Linked DNA regions of Homo sapiens: regions 2, 3, 4 and 5 are each linked to region 1. The links are contacts of gene promoters, found by promoter capture Hi-C in blood cells and fetal thymus (Javierre and others, 2016). All regions are on one chromosome and are shown on one strand. Each heading gives the region's core, a stretch centred on a gene start or on the middle of the fragment in contact. The rest is flanking DNA. Distances are from core to core; before and after follow the strand shown.

Evidence for each region. Contacts are between HindIII fragments. The CHiCAGO score rates a contact against its expected background, and 5 or more counts as called.
Region 2: a contact is called between a fragment that was not itself captured here and the fragment with the promoter of GTPBP4 in region 1, in 3 of 17 cell types (fetal thymus, total B cells and naive B cells). The highest score is 9.1, in fetal thymus.
Region 3: a fragment that was not itself captured here is called in contact with the fragment with the promoter of GTPBP4 in region 1 in 1 of 17 cell types (fetal thymus); the score reaches 5.4 in fetal thymus.
Region 4: a contact is called between a fragment that was not itself captured here and the fragment with the promoter of GTPBP4 in region 1, in 2 of 17 cell types (naive CD8 T cells and total B cells). The highest score is 5.4, in naive CD8 T cells.
Region 5: a fragment that was not itself captured here is called in contact with the fragment with the promoter of GTPBP4 in region 1 in 2 of 17 cell types (fetal thymus and naive CD4 T cells); the score reaches 7.9 in fetal thymus.

The regions. Positions count from the first base shown.
Region 1 is chr10:985,799-990,300 of GRCh38, reverse strand. GTPBP4 (GTP binding protein 4) reads right to left here and starts at 1,867. Exons shown (of 17, transcript NM_012341.3): 1 at 1,774-1,867. The coding sequence starts at 1,821. It also overlaps a transcript of LARP4B not described here. RefSeq lists an enhancer at 1-120. The HindIII fragment of the contact is 2,419 bases long and covers 679-3,097 here.
Region 2 is chr10:124,038-128,948 of GRCh38, reverse strand. No RefSeq gene overlaps it. Among named protein-coding and RNA genes, the nearest start is that of ZMYND11, 9.0 kb to the left of the region's middle. The HindIII fragment of the contact is 2,934 bases long and covers 821-3,754 here.
Region 3 is chr10:374,527-379,400 of GRCh38, reverse strand. The region is part of intron 17 of DIP2C (disco interacting protein 2 homolog C); the gene reads left to right. Among named protein-coding and RNA genes, the nearest start is that of ZMYND11, 240 kb to the right of the region's middle. The HindIII fragment of the contact is 1,463 bases long and covers 2,594-4,056 here.
Region 4 is chr10:329,862-335,116 of GRCh38, reverse strand. All of the region lies in intron 29 of DIP2C (disco interacting protein 2 homolog C), which reads left to right. It overlaps LOC124902362 (a long non-coding RNA gene), which reads left to right. Exons shown (of 2, transcript XR_007062030.1): 2 at 1-92. Among named protein-coding and RNA genes, the nearest start is that of ZMYND11, 200 kb to the right of the region's middle. The HindIII fragment of the contact is 3,787 bases long and covers 1-3,721 here.
Region 5 is chr10:147,354-152,103 of GRCh38, reverse strand. All of the region lies in intron 1 of ZMYND11 (zinc finger MYND-type containing 11), which reads right to left. It also overlaps the pseudogene DDX20P1. Among named protein-coding and RNA genes, the nearest start is that of ZMYND11, 14 kb to the right of the region's middle. The HindIII fragment of the contact is 2,511 bases long and covers 2,123-4,633 here.

The DNA of each region.
Region 1 (4,502 bases), core at 618-3,117:
TGATTTTTTTTTTTTACTTCCAATCACCAAACAATTACCATCACCCAGTTTTTAGATAAGTCATCTGTTCTCTAAAAATATAAATCTCACTCCACAGAACAGAAGACGGATGGTGTATAATATATTCTAAAGTTCTCCACATAAGTCAATAACATGAACAAAGTTCATATAATCCAAAGAGCAAATTCCTTCAACAAACCTGAGAGATGGTTGACCAAAAATACAAATAAGACATGACTCCTGCACTCGAAAATACTACAATCTGGCTGGGCACAGTAGCTCATGCCTGTAATCCTAACACTTTGGGAGGCTGAGGCAAGTGAATCACTTGAGATTAGGAGTTCAAGACCAGTCTGGCCAACATGGTGAAACTCCACTTCTACTGAAAATACAAAAATTAGCCAGGCCTGGTGGCGCATGCCTGTAGTCCCAGCTACTCGGGAGGCTGAGGCAGGAAAATCACTTGAACCTGGGAGGCGGTGGCTGCAGTCAGGATCACACCACTGCGCTCCAACCTGGCCAACAGAGCGAGACTCCATCTCAAAAAGAAAGAAAGAAAATACTACAATCGATCAAGAGATGTGCCAGAACAACTGTCAGGAAGAAATAAGAAATGGTGGAGAGAAGTGGGGAAACAACTTTTGCTATGAAGGTAAAATACGAGACTCCCACAAAGCTTTCCAAGGCAAGCTCATCCCGTCCTTGAGACCTGAAGAAAAGGAGGCACTGACGAGGGGAAAACAGTCACTCTGCAGGGACTTCAGTAACTCCCTCTCGTGCAGGAGTCCCTGGGAGGCTCCAGTTGCCCGTCAATGTCTGTGTAATTGCGACCCAAATCGAATGTTCACTACATAAAAACGTGACTTCTTAAAAGTCCTAATACTAGGGCCGGGCGCAGTGGCTCACGCCTGTAATTCCAGCACTTTGGGAGGCCGGGGCGGGAGGATCACCCGGGATCAGGAGTTCGAGGCCAGCTTGGCCAACGTGGTGAAACCCCGTCTCTACTAAAAATACGAAAATTAGCTGGGTGTGGTGGTGCACGACTGTAATCCCTGTTACTCGGGAGGCTGAAGCAGGAGAATCGCTTGAACGCGGGAGGTGGAGGTTGCAGTGAGCCGAGACTGCGCTCCAGCCTGGGAAACAAGAGCGAAAAACTATGTCTCAAAAAAAAAAAAAAAAAAAAAAAGTCCTAATACTCAACACTTGTTGACTCATTCTTGCCACACCAACCAACGCTGTAAAAATTTAGTCTGGGCCTACTATGGTCTGAAAAGGAACAGGTATTCCCAAATCTAACAGTGAAAGAGAATGACTTAAAAATTATGAAACGTTAAATCACGAGAACAACGAACCCAGGATTCCTGAGAGGGGAGGGGGCTACGCCAAACCCAGAATCCGAAGGCTCATCACGGACCACGGAACGCTTCCTCCCTCACATGTCGGGGTCCCCCTCCACTCGCCCACATCGTCACCCGGGGCCCCTCCAGGGAACCCAACTCTGGGTGTACCCCCATCTCTGGGGGCCCTCAGTCTTTGGGTGGACCACGGTCTTAGGTGGACCCCGGTCTCTGGGGGATCCGATCTCTGGTGGACCCCGGATTCTGCTGGGGGAGGGGAAATGATCCCGAGTACGCGGCCAGACGGTCAGGCCCAGGAGCGGGGGATGGGCGAGCGGAAGGCGACCGCTCTCCCACGGCTACAGGCCCGGACCCTCCCCGGGGACCCAGCTGAGGAGAACGCGAAAGTTGCAGTGGCCCTCCCGGGGCCGCCTACCTTGGCGGACGGCACCACCGTAATTTTCTTGAAGTTGTAATGTGCCATGCCGGCAGCCGTATGCACGCGGGTACTTGGCACTCCCGGAACTTCCGCCGTCGGGCGCAGGTGGGACTTCCACTGTCGGGCGGTTGAGGTACGTCACTTCCGGGAGCTCAGCCAATCGTGTTCTGCGTGCTCTACGGCGCTTTCCGCGTCGCACAGCGCACCCGCCCGGCTTGGAGGTCAGCCACGGAGGGCGTGTGAGGGCCTCAGGAGCGAGGGTACAGAGGAGAGGACGCCCGGGTTTTAGGGGGAGCGCGGAGACTAAATTCCTGCTGAGTAAAGCGGGGGTTTCCGACAGACTGCCCTGCGGGTTTCTGGAGCGGGTTCAGGCCCCCAGCCACGCGCCCTGGGCCAGGGTTGGAGGGTCCGGGGTCTTGGGATTTGGGAGTTGCGGGGCTTAGGAGTCCAGAGGGTCTAGGGGATCCGGGAGTCTGGGGGTCCTGGGTCGCGGCGAGCCCCGCAAAGGAGGAGGAAGCCGCGCGTGCGGGGCGTGCCCAGCCTCTGGGTGTGGAGCAGATGACGCCCCTACCCCGGCCTCGCGCGTGGGACTTGATCCCGGGCCGTGGTGAGGAGGCCCTCGCGGCTTCCCTGCAGCCCTGCTTTCTCGTGCTTGTTAAATCCCAAAACGGGCGGAGAAGGGAAAGCCTGATCTAAGGCAAAAGAGGTGCAGCTGGTTCCGCGCAGTGCCTTAGGAGAGCCCAGGGAACAGTTGCGAGAGACAGTCCTGTGGGGTCCAACTGAGGAGAAGGTTGATGAGGATGGAGCCTTTACTGCTTTTATGTTTGTGAATAGAGTGGCCGCTCCCTTTGGGAACCCAGGGCCACATCCCTTAAATTAAACGTTAGGTAGGGCTGACTCAGTCAAGCAGTGTTCAGAGCTGCTGACTATATATTAACTCGTTTAATTTCTGCAACAGCCTCATGAAGTGCATGGGGAAACAAAGGCACACAAGGCTCGAAAGCACCCCGTGGTTGTGCAGCTGACAAGCTAACAGGCAGCAGAGGTGGGCTTTGAACCCAGGCAGCCTGGCTCCAGCAAACCTGCTTCTAACCATTAGCTATACTGCTTCTCACGCATCTGGGATGCCCCCCACTCTCCAATCCTTTTAAACAAGTCCTATTATTCTTACGCGAAAATACCTCTCATAAATTCCCAGCATTCCAATATTGAAAATCATTCTGGGTCATGCTTTTCTCATCTATTAACTATGCTTCCATTTTTGTGTCACAAGGCGGATAAGCATACCTCCTACATCTTTGTGGCACTTCTAAAGGAAGCTTCTAGGGTAATTAGGATTTGCTGGCTATGATCATTTGCTAAACCACAGGACAGTTCTGGCCACCATTTCCGAGATTAGCAAAGCTATGCTCATACTTATTGCCCTTTCTTTTAGGTTCTTGTATGTTTCCTCAACCTCTCCCACTTTCTCTCACTCTGATATAGCCAGTTCCTCTTTTTCTTGTAATCCGGTATTTAGATAAGTCCAGTCAATACTTTGCTTCAGATGGGCAAACATCCTTTCTTTAATTTTTTTTTTTTTTTTGAGACGGAATCTCACTCTGTCGCGCAGGCTGGAGCGCAGTGGCGCCATCTCAGCTCACTGCAACCTCCGCCTCCAGGGTTCAAGCCATTCTCCTGCCTCAGCCTCCCAAGTAGCTGGGATTACAGGCACCTGCCACCACTCCCGGCTAATATTTTGTATTTTTAGTAGAGACAGGGTTTTACCATATTAGCCAGGCTGGTCTCAAACCCTGACCTCAAGTGATCCACCCACCTTGGCCTCCCAAAGTGCAGAGATTACAGGCATGAGCCACCTGCTTTTAACTTGTTCAGCTACAAAGGCATGTCTGTGAATGCACAACCATAATGACTCATCATGGGCCCAGAGCTATAACAATGATAAGGTACCAAGCATCTTACACCATGTGCGTGTTGATGAGAATCAACATCCTTGCCTGTTCTTGTGATTTTGTGGCAGAGTATAGCTTCTTGGGGGCAAGTATGTATTCTACACCACTAGGAGCAAGCTTCTTTATCATACACTTCTGGGCTTCTCTGGGGAAGCCAAACTCTAAAGGCCTTTTCTGAGGAGTGTCGCAAATGCTGCCTGCAGTACGAGGCACATTGCCAGTTCCTGACTGCATTAGCAGGTTCCAGCTGCCAGGACGCCTCTGAGTGTGTACCTTGTGACAGAAAGGTACTTCTCAGCTGTAGTAAAGGATGCTCTCAAGGGTACTCTGCAAAGCTTCTGACTGCGAGGCACTTCTCAGTAAAAAGCTTTGTTTTTCAGACCTTTTTATTTTGTGGGTTTGGTCTTTTCTGTTTTACCTTCTCGTTGCTGTAATTCTGATGGATGAAAGGTACATTTTGCAGAACTGAACTTCCTGCCTGAAAGGAGCCTTTACATGGGGATTAGCCATCAGTAGGCATCCGGTCTTAGAGGGTCCTATGAGTGCTCCATTGGGCCCGTCGGCCACTTCCCTGGATCCCCACAGGAACTCATTCAGAACGAGTCACATGCTGCTTTGTACCTAGATGCTTCCTTGTGTACATCTTGTTTCCAAAAGAAGTAGCCAGCTCTTCGTGGACAGGAACTGTGTCTTACTTTTTTGCCATCCCTCACCTCAGGCAGCACTGCCAAGAGCATTCACAGTGACTGTGGAACTCCGTTGATTGAATGTTGG
Region 2 (4,911 bases), core at 1,038-3,537, 860 kb after region 1:
GATTACTCATGTTCCCATGCAAATTAATGTTTAAGAAATCATCACAGTATTTACCACTGATGCCTTTGGAATTTTCTGTTGTTCTGAAGGATTCTCCCGTTTGTTAATTTTCATAAAAGCTTTCTTTGGGTTTGGTTAATTGGCATAAAATTAAAACTGATGTTATCTTTATGTATGTTTTAAGTTTTTAATACAAACAAAGCTCAGAGAAATTGTAAAAAGGCTGATGGGATAGGAACATTTAAATAAATAAACATTTATAAACACATAAATAAATAGTTCATAGGAAACTGTCTTCTAGAAGTAGTAAAGTATAAAACGTCCATTTGTATTCTTCTATTATTTGAAGAAAACTATGTCTTAATAAATTGTCCAGTGATAAATCCCTTAAAGACCTAGAGAAAAATATAGTAAACACATTAGATCTCGCAGGGGAAATGGTAGAAAGTAAATATCTAGGAGAACAATAAAATGAAATGTAAATAATTACAGTGCCAAATTATACTTTCTACAAAATAATTATATTTCAAAAATATTTCCTACATTATTTGGCCATTGTCTCTGCACTTACAGTTTGATTGGTTTCTTTTGCTTATGTGCAGTATTGAGATAAAGTCAAAGAAAAGTTGGAGGCCAGTCATGGTGGTTCGCATCTGTGGTCCCAGCTACTGTGGAGGCTGAGGCAGGAGGATTGCTCAAGCATAGGAGTTTGAGGCTGCAGTGAGCCATGATTGTGCCAATGCACTCCAGCCTGGGCAACAGAGCAAGACCCAGTCTCAAAAAACAAACCAAAAAAAAAAAAGGAGAAGAAAGAAAAGCTTCAGAGGGCACAACTTCCTTTTTTCTTTTAATGTAACTGCACTGAGAATTTCAAGCACAGGAAGTTCTACATCCTCAACTACCATGCGTAGAAAGCAAAACATAGAAAGCGACGCGTTTCTTTCCGCATCGTCACCTTCCTCCTTCCATCAGTCAGTCCGCAGTCCCGCTTCTCCAGTGAAGCCTGGTGTTAATTTTCCACACACAGTGTTATTCAGGGGCTGATTATCCTCTCTTATTTGTATTCATTTGTTTTTTTATACCTATTTTGAAAATTCATACAGAATATAGGCAAAGAAGCTAAAAGAAAAAGTGAAACTCAGCACATTTTTAATTTTTTATTAGTAATTGCATTTTTAAAAAAGGACAGTTACTGGAAGAGAAGGTAATTGAATATAGATTACAACAAGATTTAGGGACAATTATAGAATTTCTTGTATATTTACTAATAAATGAATGCTAATTATCTTTTATGTAAATGGCATTTTATGCCAGCAAGATGTTTTATATGTACATATGCACACACACACACGCGCGATAGAGCGATGGCTAAATAAATTGTGATTTATTCCTATGATAGGATTTATGTAACTATTAAAGAAGTTGTTTATAAAAGTCTTTCTTATTGTTAAGTGCAAAACTAGGATTAGGATAGACGTTAAAGAAAAGGATCATATAGTGTAAAAATAAACATGTATATTAGTAGAAAGAGACCACAAAGTGTTATGAAAAAATACTAACTATATTAATCTCTGGCAAATAAAAGTATTTGTGTTTTAGTTTTTCTTTTTTTTATTTTTATTTTCTTGTGTCGTATTCATATTTCAATTATTAAAAAATGTTGTTCTAGAAATTGTGAACCAAAAGTATCTGAGACAGGTCTCAATCAATTTAGAAAGTTTATTTTGCCAAGGTTGAGGACATGCCCATGGCACTGCCTCAGGAGGTCCTGATGACATGTGCCCAAGGTGTTCAGGACACAGCTTGGTTTTATACGTTTTAGGGAGACATGAGACATCAGTCAACCCGTGTGAGATGTACATTGCTTGGGTCTGGAAAGGCAGGACAACTCAGTTAGGGGCTTCCAGGTCATAGATAAGAGACAAACGGTTGTATTATTTCGAGTGTTTGATCAGCCTTTCGCTGAGATACACAATTTACACGTGAGATGGGGGTAGACAGATAGTCACTTATGCCTTAGTCTGGCTCAGCGACTGCATTTTTACATAAATGATAAGGCAGAGGAAGCAATCAGATATGCATTTGTCTCAGGTGAGCAGGATGACTTTGAGTTCTGTCCTTTGTCCCACACCTGTGAAAATAAGCTATCAATTTACCTTGCCAGGGTAAAAATTCAACAGAATGGTTTTAGGGTAAAGATCGTGAGCCCCCGCCCCTCCCCCCCCCCCAACGGAATTTCCTTGTGAGCAAAATTGTGAGTAAGGTATGTAGCTTTTTTATCTTTGTGGCTATCTTATTTGGGAATAAAATGGAAAGCAGGTTTGTCTGACCCAGTTCCCCAGCTTGACTTTCCCCTTTGGCTTAGTGATTTTGGGTCCTGATATTTATTTTCCTTCCACAAAGTGAAATGTTGGATTTTAGCAGACTTGCTGTGCAACTTTAAGTGGTATTTGTTTAGCAAGCAACTAAACCAAAAGTACCATGCAATGCAGGTAATAGAACATTTTATTTATTTATTTATTTATTTATTTTGAGACAGAGTCTCACTCTGTTGCCCAGGCTGGAGTGCAGAGGCATGATCTCAGCTCACTGCAAACTCTGCCTCCCGGGTTCAAGCAATTTCCATGCCTCAGCCCCCCGAGTAGCTGGGACTACAAGCGTGCACCACCACACCTGGCTAATTTTTGTATTTTTAGTAGAGACGGGGTTTCACCATGTTGACCAAGGTGGTTTGGAACTCCTGACCTCAAGTGATCCACCCACCTTGGCCTCATAAAGTGCTGAGATTACACTCAGGTGTGCTGGGCCACTGTACCTGGCCCAGAAAATTTATTTTTAATTAAATATTATATTCCTATGAATACATTTATTCTGTTAAATGAAGAACAACTCTACTGTTCATAGTAATATCAAATTGAAGCCATTTTTATAGGTCAAAGAAAGTGGATACTGGCATTTTCATATGGTTCAACCTCATAGCATTGGTTTTCACATTCTCTGATTGGGATTTTAGAAAAATAAAATCAAAAGTGAAGCCAGACATAAGTGTGTTCAGTACGAAAATGGTAATCCAATAGACTAAGTGGGAGTGCAAGTACAAGAAATGCTCATGATAGCATTTCATGTAGGTTTTCCCTCTAATTCAATCAACTTCTAGAAGTCAGTTGTAGTAGTCCACTCTCACACTGCTATGAAGAACTACCTGAGACTGGGGAATCTATGAAGAAAAGAGGTCCAATTGACCACAGTTCAGCAGGCTTAACTGGAAGCATGGCTGGGAGGCCTCAGGAAACTTACAATCCTGGCAGAAGGACAAAGGGGAAGCACCTTCTTCTCATGGCGGCAGGAGAGAGAGAGCCAAGGGGGAAGTGCCATACACTTTTAAACCATCAAATCTCATGAGAACTCACTATCACAAGAACAGCAAGGGGGAAATCCACCCCCATGATCCAAATATCTCCCACTAGGTCCCTCCCTTGACACGTGGGGATTAAAACTTGATATGAGATTTGGGTGGGGAAACGGCGCCAAACCATATCATCAGTTCCATATTTTACATTAAGAGTTACAGTGATGTTGAACTCATATTCCTTGTGGAGGTTAAAAACTCTTTATATGATGGTGAGAAGTTTTAGTTAGAAAATTTAGTTCTTCTATAAATTTATCTTTGATTATTAGATCCCTTGCACAATAAGGACCTGTATTCATTAAACTAAAATAAAATATTCTGAGAACTGTATGGTGTGACTAAGCTTTTACCGTCCCAGCTCACTTAATCCTTACCAACTGATAACTCTAGTGCCCACATTTTACTCATGAGGAAACTGAGAATTGGAAAGATAAAATATCTTGCCTAGGCTTCCAGCTGACAAGTGACCTATCCCAGGCTTGAGTCCAAGATTATCTACTGACAGATCTGAAGTCTGGACTTTTAATTACTATTCCTATTCAAGTCTGTCATTTCAGATGTATTACCCAATTAGGATCACATTGTTTAAAGTCTATACTTGTAATGCCACACACAGAAAACCTCCTTGCTTTGTATTAAAAATTTATATTTTGTCCATCAGAGCAATCGATTTAAAAAATTTTAAAAAGAAGCACGCACTAAACCAAGGGTTTTAGATATGTGAAAAATTCTAAAACAAGCAACAAATAAATCCAAAATATTATATTTAGATGAGTCACTCAAAGTGAAAAAAAGATCTTTCCTTTGGCCACCTAGTGTTTAAGAGTGTAGAATTCACAGCTAGGCCCATCATGGTTATTATGTCTATTAATTATTCCAAGAGATCCAATTACTCAGATTCTTTTATGGCAAGACTTGGTAGATGAGGACAGATAAAGAGAAGGAATTCAAAAGTATGGTCAGGTGTGAGACTTACAACTACTATATTCTTTTAATTATATATATATATATATATATATATATATATATATATATATTTTTTTTTTTTTTTTTTAGATGAAGCCTCTCTCTGTTGCCCTGGCTGGAGTGCAGTGTCACGATCTTGGTTCACTGCAACCTCCACCTCCCAGGCTCAAGTGATTCTCATGCCATTGCCCCCAAAATAGCAGGGACCACAGGTGTTAGCTACCACACCCAGCTAATTTTTGTATTTTTTTGGTAGAGAGGGGGTTTTGTCATGTTGGCCAGGCTGGTCTCAAACTCCCGACCTCAAGTGATCTGCCCTCCCCAGCCTCCCAAAGTGCTGGGGCTACAGGCATGAGCCACTGCACCTTGCCTATAATTCTTTATCAAAGCATTTGCATTAAAATTCAGCTTGTATGACGCTTTTATATTATAACCTGAATTGAAATATTTTTATTACTGTTAATCTTATAACATGACATTAATTTTTGTTAGTATGTGACTGTGTGACATAGCCAATTTCCATGCTAGAGAATTTG
Region 3 (4,874 bases), core at 2,076-4,575, 610 kb after region 1:
TCTGTCATGCAAAACAGAGCATGTCGGAAAGTTCTGGGGCTCACAGGATCAATGGAACCTCCAGTATCCCGCTTGATAAATACGCAGGATGCACGGGCACTTCCGGGAGCAGCAGCAGCCCTAGTGATGGGGAAGGGGTTGGGGTGGGGTAGCGGGGCAGGGCGTACAGAAGCCAGCAGCAGCTGTCAGGGGTTGTGGGGGGGGGGGGGGGGGGCGTGGCACTCGGGAGCCAGCAGCAGCCCTGGCGATGGGTATGTGGGAGCAGGCTGGCGCCTGGGCCGCAGGTGCTGTGCCCTCTGTCAGGTTGCCCAGCGCTGCAGGCAGGTCACTGCCAGAGCTTATGCCATTGGTTCTCCCCTCACAGAAAGGCCAGTCTCCAAAAAAGAATGACCAGCACTCATTTTAGGGAGGTTGAGAGTCTTTAAAAACATGAGTCGGAGACTTTGAAGGGACAAGGGCTGGTGACTCGCCTGTCCTCACGCATGTCTGTGTCCGTGTCTTTATGCATGTCTGTGTTCACGTGTGTCTAGGCATGTCTGTTCACATGTGTCTATGCATGTCTGTTCACATCTGTGCATGTCTGTTCATTTGTGTCTTTATGCATGTCCATGGGTGTCTAGGCATGTGTGTTCACGTGTCTAGGCATGTGTTCACATGTGTCTTTATGCATGTCTGTTCACGTGTCTGTGCATATCTGTTCATGTGTGTATGCATGTCTGTTCATGTGTGCCTAGGCATATCTGTTCATGTGTGTCTTTATGCATGTCTGTGTTCGTGTGTCTTTATGCATGTCTGTTCATGTGTGTCTATGTCTGCGTTCACATGTCTGCATGTTTGTGTTCACGTGTCTGCATGTGTTCACATGTGTCTTTGTGCATGTGTGTTCACGTGTCTTTATGCATGTCTGTGTTCACATGTATGCATGTCTTTGTCTAGGCATGTTTGTGTTCACGTGTCTTTATGCATGCCTGTTCATGCATGCATGCCTTCATGTCTGTCTTCACCTGTGTATGCCTGTTTTCGTGTTTGTGTTGATGTGTGTGCCTTCATGTGTGTCTGTTTTCACCTTCGTGTTCATGTGTGTCAGCCAAGTGGTGGCAGGAAATCACGTTCTCTAGTGAAGTCTGCTCAGTCTTGCTACGTGAACTGTATTTTCACCTAGGCATTTAAAGTATTTTTTTCTCTTTAAAACTGTCACTGTCCTGTTATATTTTGTGTTTTCTTTTCTCCCGATGTTAGTTTTAGAGTAGAAAAATATTGGGGAAATAGGGGCTTGTGGTGCCTAAACTCATCAGACATTTTTTAAAGGACAAATTGCAAGGCGAAAACCAGGAAACTGTTTCCTGGCTACAAGTATCCCCTAAATCTCCTGCCATCTGACTCTGTTACCATCTCTAGAATGTAGATGATAGACTTGATTTTCTTAAAGCTACGTTGTGAAATGTTTATTGAACTGAAAAACATAATTTTTAGCTTTGTAACTACAAAGTACTATTTGGATACCCTGATATTTTAGTAATGAAAATGCAAAAATCATATAAAACAATGAAACAATAATTCCAGAAAAGATAAAATACCCCCTTGTCACCACAACCATCTTCTAGTTTTTGAAAGTATCCAAGCTCGAAGTTAGCTGGGAGAAAAATCAAAGAAGACGTGTCCGCAGGGAGAAGGGTGCTGTCTGATGCCCACTGGGTGCTGATGGTGCCTGGATGAGTGACAGCGGAGAAAACGTCAGCACAGCCCTGAGCCAAAGTGGATCCGAAGTGAGCACTTCCCACTGCTCGGAAAAGTCAGACCCAGAGTTCCATAATCCCGCATGTAAGAGAACGCAAGATAAACTGTGTCATTTTATCTAAAAAGAGGGATAAAATTTTGCAATTCTCTAACTACAGAGTAGTTTCGAGATGAAAATCACGTGACCCAGACCATGAGAGTTAGGTAGCATCGAATAGCAAACCAAGTTTCCTGTTTAATTTCACCCAACCACGTGCGTTTTACAGTGTGTTCTGTTTTGTGGTGAATTAGATGATGAGAAGTTGGTTTTGGCAAAGGAGGTGCAGCGGGAAGATGGCAGAGGAGGGGCCTCCCCACGGGGTCCCCCCCAGTTCCAGCCCATAACCTCCCCTGGAAATAGAAAGGTGGCCAAGGCTTATGAGAAAGAGTTTGTAAAAAAGTTTATATAGTGTGATCCCGTTTTTGGTAACAAAAAATTAAGTATCTGTAAATAGTATATTCAGTGCAAAAAAAAAAAAAAAACTGCGCTGCACAGGGTGGGTGAGGCAGTAAAGATGGGCAGCTCACTTTCCGTGCTGTGCAGCTTGTAAAATGGGCTGTTTTTAGTGGGCATGCATTGCTCCTGTTAGAGAAAAGGAAGAATATTACATTAAATCAACTCATAACTTAATATATTGGCTGCTTTTACATTGTATCTTTTCCTATTAAAAATCGCAATCTCACTTATCTGTTGTGTTTTTGAAAGTCTGTGTCACGCTAAACATCGAAAAAGGTACATGCACATTTTTCACTGAATTTCCCCTCGCGGTGCGTGTTTCCTGAAAATATTATTTCTGCTGAAATGAGTTCACAAGCTTAACTGCTCCTGTCCTTTAAAGGGCATTTTTACCAGTACTGTGAATTTATTAGTTCATTCTGCTGCTGTGAAAAAGAGTGGCCCAGAGAGGAAAGAAAGCAGAGGAGATGTTCTGTGTTCTGTGTGCGTTGTGTGGCTGCCCCGGCACCTTCATCAGGGCTGATTTACGTCCATCTAAAAGAGAAACCTTTGGTGGTGAATGGTGATTCAAGACCAGAGTAGCTGCCCTGTTTAAAAAAAAAAAAAAAAAGACACTTCCTCGGGGTTCTGGCTGCCAGTTCAGAAGGGAAGACCCCCCCTCCCAACCCCACTCTCAAACAGGCTTCCTGGTAACTTCGCATTTTGTCTGGAACCGGAATGCGTGTTCCCAAAGAAGCAACGTTGTGCAGGTGCTTCGACGCCAGCACAGGGAACGTCGTGTGTGGGATGAGCACCACCTCATTCTTGCTCTGTGCCGGCTCCGTCGGGGGCCGAGGTGGGCCTGGGTCCTTCTCCCTGCCGGCTCCGTCGGGGGCCGAGGTGGGCCTGGGTCCTTCTCCCTGCCGGCTCTGTCGGGGGCCGAGGTCGGCCTGGGTCCCCATCTCGCTGCTCTCGCGCCTGCTTTGTCATGTGGGCAGGGCTTCACCTTGAGGATTCCTCGTCTGTAGATGAGAATCACAGCAGTTAGCTACGTCAGAGGCCCGTGTGAGCATTGAGTGGGTTCATACACACACAGAGCTTGAAAGCACGCCTGGTACATAGTAAGAATTCAACAAATGTTACCGCCGTTACATGACTGCAGGCGTGTTTTGTGTGTGGTCCGTTGCATAGAAATGCTGTGTAAAGATTGCTGGGGAGGAGGGGCCTGCAGCTTAACTCTTTCTTCTCTAAATGTGCCGTTGTTGCTAAGCTGAGGAATACTACATTGGAGATCGCCCGTATAAGATAAAAAAAATGAAAGACCTTGTTGACTCACTTGCTTAAGGGATTCAGCAAATGATGAGCGGCACTGAAGCTGTGCAGGTGCAGTGTGGCTCTCTGTTAAGCCCTAGAACTGGAGGCTGTGAGGCTTGTTCACTACTTGATGTGTTTGTTTTGTGTGAATGTCCCAAGCCTGGCCTGGCTCTGCTTGTGGTCAGGAGTAGCAAACTGCAGATGTGTTCATGAAATTTATAGGAGCTGCTACTTCAAGGTGTTATGCGGGCAAGGCTTATGGAATGCTTTCCAGAGGCTGGAAATGCTATGACAAGTCAGTGGTGCAAATGGTTCAATGGAAGCCATAGTGTACATTCCTCGTGAGGCCACATTGCAAGGTCTGGCCTGCTTCTTTCCTTTTTGTTGGTGTGTTTGCATTGTTATAAAGGAATGTGTGAGACTGGGTAATCTATAAGGAAAAGAGGTTTATTTTGGCTCACAGTTCTGTAGGCTGTAAGAGAAGCATGGCTCCAGCATCTACTCAGCTCCTGGTGAGGCCTCAGGAAGCTTATGATCATGGCAGAAGGCAAAGTGGGAGCCTGCATGTCACATGGTGAGAGATTGAGCGAGCAAGAGAGAGAGAGAGGAGGTGCCCAGCTCTATTCTAAACAACTAGATCCCACGTGAACTCATAAAGTGAGAACTCTCGTGTTACTGCGAGAACAGGCCCACCTGCATTGTTGGACGTCACATTTCAACGTGAGATCTGCAGGCAACAAAACATCCAGACTCTGTTGTCCTTTAGTTTTATTTTGTTTCCCTTTTGCACGTCATCGTGGTATTGTATACACAGGTACGTATTTTGCTCCTTCCATATCTCCAAGAGAGGACTCTGCCTCCTTACATTCCTGGAGATCACTGAGATGGTCCCTCCTGGAATCCATATTCTTCATGAGACACACAAAGCTGTTTGGTCTTGAACACCATTTCACATGGGAACTGAGTTTGGAAGTTGATGAATGGGCGGATACCTTTATTAGCCATTTTTTAATGTACTGATATTGATTATTAAGGTGGATGTTTTTTAAACCCCCTCGAATTCTGCCTATGGGGACTGTTTCTTCCCTTCCTCACCTCATCTACCTACTTGGGATTTTTACTTCTTAGCAAGGTGTTGATGGAGATAAATATCATCTAAGTTTCTCAATAATACAGGGAACACAAATTGGACCAACAAATGGTGTTTTACTGAACAAATTGGGAAGCATTTTAAGTGTTGGCAAGAGTGCAGAGATGGGCACTGCTGAGCAGCTTGGCGCTGTGGTCAGATGCACAGATTCTGAAGCCAGACTGAGATTGGCGCTGGCTCCACTCCACAGCAGTGGCT
Region 4 (5,255 bases), core at 579-3,078, 660 kb after region 1:
TTTAAGATTACACCTGTTTTTAAAAATTGTGTCAGATAGCCTGTATTCATGTATTGGAAGATTCAATATTATTAAAATGGTAGTTCTCCCCACATTGCTTTATAGGTTCAATGTAATTCCTACCAAAATCTTGGCAGGCTATTTTTTGGGGGTTTTTTGGGGCAGAAATTGATAATATCCTGAAGTAAATATAAAGGACCCACAATAGTGAAAGCAGTTTTAAAATAGGTTAACAAAATTGGAGAATTCAGAACTTCTCATTCCTGATTTCAAAAATATTGCAAAGCTGCAATAACCAGAACAATGTACTGGCATTGAGATAGAGTGATTATATATATGAGAAACAGAATTGAGAGTCCAGAAATAAACCCTTATATTTATGGTCAAATAATTTTTTAATAGAGTTACCCGAGCAATTCAATGAAGAAAAGTTTTTCCAACAACAGATGCTGGGAAATTCGGACATTCACATGAAAAGGAAAAAAGATTAAACCTTGACTCAACGTCATATACCTAAGTTAGTTCAAGTGGATCATAGATCTTAATGTAAGAGCAAAAATTATAAAAATTTTAGAAAACACAGGAGTAAATTTTCATAATCTTGGTTAGGCACAGAGTTCATCAAAGGTATACTACATAAATACTGATAAACTGGACTGGAACAAAATTTAAAACTTTTGTATATCAAAAGACAGAATTAAGTAGAAAGACAAGCCACAGTCTGGGAAAAAATATTTGCAAATTATAAATCTCATGAAGCACTTCTAAGCACCTATGTAATAAATTTTTTCTTTTTTTTTTTTTTTTTTTTTGAGACAGTCTTGCTCTGTCACCCGGGCTGGAGTGCAGTAGCTTGATCTCAGCTTACTGCCACCTCTGCCTCCAAGGTTCAAGTGATTCTCCTGCCTCAGCCTCCCAAGTAGCTGGAAGTACAGGCATGCACCACCACACCTGGCTATTTTTTTTGTATTTTTAGTAGAGACAGTGTTTTGCCATGTTGGCCAGGCTGGTCTTGAACTCCTTACCTCAAGTAATCTGCCCGCTTCAGCCTCCCAAAGTGCTGGGATTACAGGCGTGAGCCACTGCACCCAGCCTATGTAATAAACACTCAAAACTCAGAAACAAGCAACATAAACACGGGCAAGAGATCTGAATAGATATCTCACCAGAAGAAGACATACAAATGGCCAATAAGGACGTGAAAAGATACCTAGCGTTAATTAGGGAAATGCAAATTAAAACCACAGTGAGATACCACTTCACACCCACTAGAATGCTGTCACCGAAAACACAGGAAATAAAGTTGGAGAGCTCGTGTTTTCTGACTTCAAAACTTACACTGCAAAGCAACAGTAACCAAGAAGGTGGAAAAACGAATTCTCATACATTGATAGTGGGAATGTAAAATGGGGAAGCCACTGTTTGGCATGATCTTAATTAAGCAGACTTGCTGCATTGACTCAGCAGCTGCACTCCTAGGAGAAAGGAAAGCGAACATCCACTCAGAGACTTGGTGTAAGTTCCCTGGAACCTCGGTCAACACAAGGAAACAATCCAGGTATCCGCTAGCAGGTGACTGAACAGGTGACGCCTGCCACGTCCACATGGTGGGTGCTTCTGCACAGGATGAGCTCAGAAGCACCTGCTGAGGGAGGGAAGTGTGGCTGTGTGGTAGGCAGTGTCCAGAAAAGGCAAATTTGTAAACAAAGTAGAATGATGACTGGGGCTAGGGCTGGAAATGGGACTGACTGCAGATGGACACGGGATCCCTTTCAGGTGATGGGAATGTTCTAGAGTAGTGACCATTTTACAACTCTTCAATTTTATTAAAAGCCATTCTGTGCTTAAAATGAGTGAAACTTAGGGTATGCAAAGTATACCTAAATAAAGCCGACGGGTGTTTTAAAAAGAATAGGCCGGGTGCGGTGGCTCATGCAGGTAATCCCAGCACTTTGGGAGGCTGAGGTGGGTGGATCACTTGAGGTCAGGAGTTTGAGACCAGCCTGGCCAACATGATGAAACCTCGTCTCTGCTAAAAATACAAAAATTAGCCTGGCGTGGTGGCACACGCCTGTCATCCCAGCTACTCAGGAGCATGAGGCAGGAGAATCACTTGAACCCAGGAGGCAGAGGTTGCATTGAGCCAAGAATGCACCACTGCACTCCAACCTGGGCGACGGAGTGAGACTCTGTCTCAACAATAAAAAATAATAAAGTGCTTCATTGCAGTAACTCAAGTGTGTAGGGAGACCCTGGGCTGGATGGCATGCCTGCTGGCAGACAGGGTATGACCCAGGACCCCCAGGTGAGATGAACCTGTCTTGTTGAATTCCCAAGTTAGGAGAGTTTTCAGTTGTTGGTATATTTTGTCAGGTTAGTAATCTGAAATCATCAAATTGCTAATGTGCGAATGTGTATTACTTACCAAAATGTCTATTTTTATTCTTTTTGAAGTTAAGATCTGAAGAACAGCTCAGGTTCCCAACATTCTCAGAGAATAATGTCTTGAGAATAAGCAACCTGCTCTTAAGTAGGTTTGTCTTGTCCATAGCAGAATTTATTGCCAGTGCCAAAAATCAATTTTGGCTAATACAGCAATTAATCAAAATTTGCTGTATTGAGTGAGGTAAGGGCAATTAGGAAATCATGAGTTGGGTTTTCTATTTGTTTCTGCTGTCAAGATTTGTGTTTTCTTAATGTTGATTTCTTATTTATGGTGATGAGGAGGGAGGTGAAACTATATTTAGTTTTCACAAGTATATTTGAAATTCTCTGGCCAGGAATTCACACTGGGTTCCCAAGCCCGTTGTGTGCTGACAATTCTGACAGAGCAAATCATTAATGCTGATGTGTATTTTTGAGGAAGCCACTTCCAGGGACACTTAGAAATGGTTAAAATGACTTTGGGTGTCCGAGGCAGGAGGATTGCTTGAACCTAGGCGTTCAAGACCAGCTTGGGCAACATAGTGAGACCCCATCTCCACAAAAAAAGTTTTAAGTTAGCCAGTCATGGTGGTATGTGCCTCTAGTCTCTAGTCCCAGTCATGGTGGTACGTGCCTCTAGTCCCAGATACTTGGGAAGTGGGAGGATCACTTGAGCCCATGAGGTCAGGGCTACAGTGAGCTGTGATCACACCACTGCACTCTAGCCTGGGTGACAAAGTAAGACTCTGTCTCAGAAAAAAAGAAAAGAAGTGGTTAATATGGTAAATGTTATGTTACATATGTTTTACCACAGTAAAATTTTTAAAACTAAGATGAAATGGCCAGTTTACAGCAGAGTAAAAATTCGAGGCCTGATATTCACCCCTTATGTGCCTAACCCTGTTCTCAAAGTATTAAACCCTTGGAAAGGTCACTATTTGCTAGAAAGTCGTCCCTCGGTGTCCACGGAGGAGATAGGTTCCGGGACCACTGCAGAAAGCAAAGAGCGAGGATGCTCAAGTCCCTGATATAAAATGGCATCATACGAGCACATCACCTATGCACTTCCTCTCTCATGTTTTAAATAATTTCTGGATTACTTGTAATACCTAACACAATGTAAATGCTGTGTGAATAGTTGTACTATGTTGTTTAGTCACTAATGATAAGAAAATCTACAAGTTAGGTATAGATGCAGATTTTTTCATGAATATCTTTGATTCATGGTTGAAGCCAGGGGTGAGGAACCCACAGACACAGAGGGCTATGTGTCCTTTTGAAAAGAATAAATCAAGCTTTGGAATAAGAATGAGGAAAGAAATGGAAAATTGCCCAAAAACGCCTTTGTCACATTTGCCGAAGAGTAGTTTTTCATACTAAGGGTCCCGTTTGAAATAAATTTTGTTAGCCAACCTAACTTCCTTACATTTCTTTAGTTGGATTCTCTTATAAACAATTATGAAAATTTTTAGATGAGATTGGCTACATTAAAGAACTGGCTTTAGTATTATAGCATAGTAGTTAACAAGGCCTAACTCGTTAATCATAGTGCTGTTTCACTGATAAAATTTTGCGTAGGCCTCTTATGGCAGCTCATGCCTATAATCCTAGCACTTTGGGAGGCTAAGATAGGAGGAGTACTTGAAGCCAGGAGTTTGAGACCAGCCTGGGCAACAATACGAAACCGTATCTACAAAAAAAAAAAAAAAAAAAATTAGCCAGGCATAGTGTTGTGCATCTGTAGTCCCAGCTACTCAGGGACTGAGGTGGGAGGATGGCCTCAGCTTGAAAGGCAGAGGTTATAATGAACCCAGATCACACCACTGCACTCCAGTCTGGGTGACAGAGTGAGACCCTGTCTCAAAAAAAAAAAAAAAAAATTGTGTAGGTTGGGCATGGTGGCTCATGCCTGTAATCCCAACACTTTGGGAGGCCAGGCACATCTTACATGGCCACAGCAGGAACAAGAGAGGATTGCTTGAGCCCCGAAGTTCAAGATGAGCCTAGGCAACATAGACCCTACCACTGAAAAAAAAAAAAAACAAGCATGGTGGTGCACACCTGTGGTCCTACTGACTCAGGAGAGGCAGGAGAATTGCTGGAGCCCAGGAGTTTGAGGTGACAGGTAGCTATGATTACACCACCCTACTCTAGCCTGGGCAACAGAACGTTCCCGTTAATTAAATTGTAAATCTTAGAACGTGATTTATCTAGGATATTTTATTTTAATGTATGGTATCTATTGTGAATTCATAGTAGTAAACAAAATTAAAACCATTAAAAATGTAGTTTTGACAAGTTGTTAAATCCACACTTACCCCATCAATTGATAAAATATGTAATCTATCACTTTTTCATTTCTCTAAATCTGTTCTCTAGTATGAAGGTAAAATTAAAGAATCGTTATTTTTCTCTATTTCTTCTGTTTGGTAATTCGTTGGGATCCTTTTTAGTAAAAATCTGATCTTAAAAAGATTGAGTGACTAACTTTAATTACCATAATTGTCTTTTTTTCACCCTGGCTGTCAGTTTTCTAAACCAGGTATAGGCCTGCTCTTTATTAAATTGCTGTTTGGTAAATATTTTAGGTTCTGTGGTCTCTGACCACTCAGCTCAAAGCCACTGGAGACAATATTTAAACAAATGAGTGGTGGTGGCCCTGTTCCAATAAAACTTTATTTACAAAAACAGGAAGTGTCTGTGGTTTGCCAGCTCCTGTTCTGAAGCTGGACTTTTTTTTTTTAAACCGAAATTTGATCCCTGTGTTTTCTACTAAGAAAGAGGATCCAGTTTGCTGATGTCGCAGGTCTGAGAGACATCACAGCATCACA
Region 5 (4,750 bases), core at 2,129-4,628, 840 kb after region 1:
CAGTGACTGGTACCAGTTGTTCCTTTCCATGTTTAGTGCTTCCTTCAGGAGCTCTTGTAGGGCAGGCCTGGTGGTGACAAAATCTCTCAGCATTTGCTTGTGTGTAAAGGATTTTATTTCTTCTTCACTTATGAAGCTTAGTTTGGCTGGATATGAAATTCTGGGTTGAAACCTCTTTTCTTCATGAATGTTGAATATTGGTCCCCACTCTCTTCTGGCTTGTAGAGTTTCTGCCAAGAGATCAGCTGTTAGTCTGATGGGCTTCCCTTTGTGGGTAACCCAACCTTTCTCATTGGCTGCCCTTAACATCTTTTCCTTCATTTCAACTTTGGTGAATCTGACAATTATGTGTCTCGGAGTTGCTCTTCTCCAGGAGTATCTTTGTGGCATTCTCTGTATTTCCTGAATCTGAATGTTGGCCTGCCTTGCTAGGTTGGGGAAGCTCTCCTGGATAATATCCTGCAGAGTGTTTTCCAACTTGGTTCCATTCTCCCCGTGACTTTCAGGTACGCCAATCAGACGTAGATTTGGTCTTTTCACATAGTCCCATATTTCTCGAAGACTTTGCTCATTTCTTTTTACTCTCTTTTCTCTAAACTCCTCTTGTGGATTTATTTCATTCATTTGATCTTCCATCACTGATACCCTTTCTTCCAGTTGATTGAATTGGCTACTGAAGCTTGTGCATTCGTCACGTAGTTCTCATGCGATGGTTTTCAGCTCCATCAGGTCATTTAAAGACTTCTCTACACTGGTTATTCTAGTTAGCCATCCGTCTAATCTTTTTTCAAGGTTTTTAGCTTCTTTGCGATGGGTTCGAACTTCCTCCTTTAGCTTGGAGAAGTTTGATCGTCTGAAGCCTTCTTCTCTCAACTCGTGAAAGTCATTCCCATCCAGCTTTGTTCTGTCGCTGGTGAGGACTGCGTTCCTTTGGAGGGGGAGAGGTGCTCTGATTTTTAGAATTTTGAGCTTTTCTGCTCTGTTTTTTCCCCATCTTTGAGGTTTTATGTACCTTTGGTCTTTGATGATGGTGACGTACAGATGGGGTTTTGGTGTGGATGTCCTTTCTGTTTGTTAGTTTTCCTTCTAACGGTCAGGACCCTCAGCTGCAGGTCTGTTGGAGTTTGCTGGAGGTCCACTCCAGACCCTGTTTGCCTGGGTATCAGCAGCAGAGGCTGCAGAACAGCAAATGTTGCTGCCTGATCGTTCCTCTAGAAGCTTTGTCTTAGAGGGGTACCCAGCCATGTGAGGTGTCAGTCTGCCCCTGCTGGGGGGTGCCTCCCAGTTTGGCTACTTGGGAGTTAGGGACCCACTTGAGGAGGCAGTCTGTCCGTTCTCAGATCTCAAACTCCGTGCTGGGAGAACCACTACTCTCTTCAAAGCTGTCAGACAGGGACATTTAAGTGTGCAGACGTTTCTGTTGCCTTTTGTTCGGCTATGCCCTGCCCCCAGAGGTGGTCTACAGAGGCAGGCAGGCCTCCTTGAGCTGCAGTGGGCTCCACCCAGTTCGAGCCTCCAGGCCACTTTGTTTACCTACTCAAGCCTCAGCAATGGCCATCAATAAAATTGATAGGCCGCTAGCAAGACTAATAAAGAAGAAAAAAGAGAAGAATCAAATAGACGCAATTAAAAATGATAAAGGGGATATCACCACTGATCCCACAGAAATACAAACTACCATCAGAGAATACTATAAACACTTCTACGCAAATAAACTAGAAAATCTAGAAGAAATGGATAAATTCCTGGACACATACACCCGCCCAAGACTAAACCAGGAAGAAGCTGAATCCCTGAATAGACCAATAACAGGCTCTGAAATTGAGGCAATAATTAATAGCTTACCAACCAAAAAAAGTCCAGGACCAGACGGATTCACAGCCAAATTCTACCAGAAGTACAAGGAGGAGCTGGTACCACTCCTTCTGAAACTATTCCAATCAATACAAAAAGAGGGAATCCTCCCTAACTCATTTTATGAGGCCAGCATCATCCTGATACCAACGCCTGGCAGAGACACAACAAAAAAAGAGAATTTTAGACCAATATCCCTGATGAACATTGATGCAAAAATCCTCAATAAAATACTGGCAAACCGAATCCAGCAGCACATCGAAAAGCTTATCCACCATGATCAAGTGGGCTTCATCCCTGGGATGCAAGGTTGGTTCAACATACACAAATCAATAAACGTAATCCAGCATATAAACAGAACCAAAGACAAAAACCACTCTATCTGAGGAGCAGGGTTCCATTAAAAAGGAAGAGAAAGAAGTGTTGAAATAATGTACTTCATTAGACTCTGTTTCAGCCTTTCTTCTCCACTCCCACAACAGAATAATTGCCCTTCTCCTAAGTGATACAATGTCTATTTAAAGTGTGAGACTGGATAAAGTATAAAATTAGTGCCCATTTATACTAAAACATACCCACAATTTAATATGCAAATATTATTAACAGTACATGTATTAAGTATTTACTATTGTGTTGTTCTTTCAAAAGCAAACTACATTTAAAAAATAATAATACATTTTGGGAGGCTGAGGTGGGTGGATCACGAGGTCAGGAGATCGAGACCATCCTGGCTAACCCGGTGAAACCCCGTCTCTACTAAAAATACAAAAAATTAGCCAGGCATGGTGGTAGGCGCCTGTAGTCTCAGCTACTTGGGAGGCTGATGCAGGAGAATGGCGTGAACCCAGGAGGCGGAGCTTGCAGTGAGCCAAGATCGCGCCACTGCACTCCAGCCTGGGCGACAGAGCGAGACTGGTCTGAAAAATAATAATAATAATAATAATAATAATAATAATAATAATAACAACCACCTCAGTGTTCTGCCTCACAGCAATTCCCAGGCCACAGTGCAGGGATGGAGATCCAAAGGGAGTGTGTGGTCTCACTGAGCTGAGGAGAATGAGATCAGAGACTGGAGTGGGCAAGTTTCGGTTCAGCCTTTCTTTTTAGAAAATTCGTATTTTTCAAAGTCAATTACTTGCCATGAGTCAGACATCGGATCCTCTTCCCTCCCTATTATTTACAATGTTTAGGGTAACCATCTAACATTTCCTACTCTATTCTTCAAGTTCAAATTTCATAAAACTATTCTCTTTAAAATGCAATTCTAACTCAGCAGCAATTAATATAATTCTTGAATGTATCTGGTAATTTAAAACTGACAAAATTATGTATATTTAAGAAAATTTGACTTAGCACACTTTAAAAACACAGACGTTGTATGTTATCACCTAAGGTCTAACCCGGAAGACAGTAAGGACACTGACAGCAGTGGAAAATCAATGGTGGATGAGGCTGTGCTGTCCCGTGAGAAGAGCAAACGAAGAGCCCTGATGGGGCCCTGGTGAGCACCCTGTCAACAGTCAGCACCAAGCCCAGGGAGGCTTACCTGGTCACTCCCTAAAATTCCACCTGCCATGCATCTTGGCCTTTGTGGAATCAGTGAAGAATTATGAACACTATGTTAAAGAGAAAATAAACCTGTGGAAATTATCAGGCACTGCCTAGGTACTGGGATACCTGTGAAGCCTCAAAACACTAGTGTGAGTAATAAAATTACTAAGGAGTGAATGCAAATATTGGACGGTAGGGGTTGGAGCCACAGTGAGTCTTACACCTCAAGGACTTCTTCCCTGAGCAAAGGAAGTTAGGACTTCTTCCCAGAGCAAAGGAAGTTAAGACTTCTTCCCAGAGCAAAGGAAGTTAGGACTTCTTCCCAGAGCAAAGGAAGTTAGGACTTCTTCCCAGAGCAAAGGAAGTTAGGACTTCTTCCCAGAGCAAAGGAAGTTAGGACTTCTTCCCAGAGCAAAGGAAGTTAGGACTTCTTCCCAGAGCAAAGGAAGTTAGGACTTCTTCCCAGAGCAAAGGAAGTTAGGACACTCAGTTTAAAGACTCTAATCTACTCCTGTAGACTGCCAAACCTGTAGAACCACCTGTACATGGAAATATTACCCCCAGCCTGGAGGAATACCAATAATCACCTGAAATCCAGATAAACACCAGGGATAAAGAGGAGGCTAGCCAGAGACCTAGGCAGAGCCTGAAAAACTTTCTCAGGTGGTCTCACTATTGACTGAAGACATAACCCCAGGACGGTTGATCTGACTGCCCCAGGGAAAGACATTCAAGTTTTTCTGATGCCTATCAGGATTAGGAGACATCCTGGAGAGCTGACTACAGGACAGGCAGAACACTTTTGTATTGCTGCTTTTCAAATTACCAGAATGCCCAGACATTCAAACTGGATGGCAACCCATATCCTGACTATAACGTATCTCAAGATCTGATGTGCATTTACCTGTGATTATAGTTATATCTGTGACCATCAGGGAATATCAACCAATGATACCTTCGATATCCATCTTCCCTGGCAATACAGTAGCGTGTTTGAGGAATCCAAAAAGATTTAACGCTTTCATCTAGGATGCATTTACTTTTCAGGTTATTTTAATTATCCTCTTTTTAAGGGAACTTCATGGATCTGATTCTTGAAAGAGAATTTCTGAGGCTTGGAACTAAAAATCCTAGGGTATGACATTTCATATAAGCTATTCCAAAAAAAAAAATTTAAAAAGGCACATATACCTCTGCCCACTTCAAAAAATAAAAATTTGAAGCTTGAAAAGCTAAAATAAAACTGTTTACTTTTAAAAAGTAGAGCTCAATAGGAGGAACATACCTCAAAATATGAAAAGCCATCTATGACAAACCCAGAGCCAACATACTGAATGGGGAA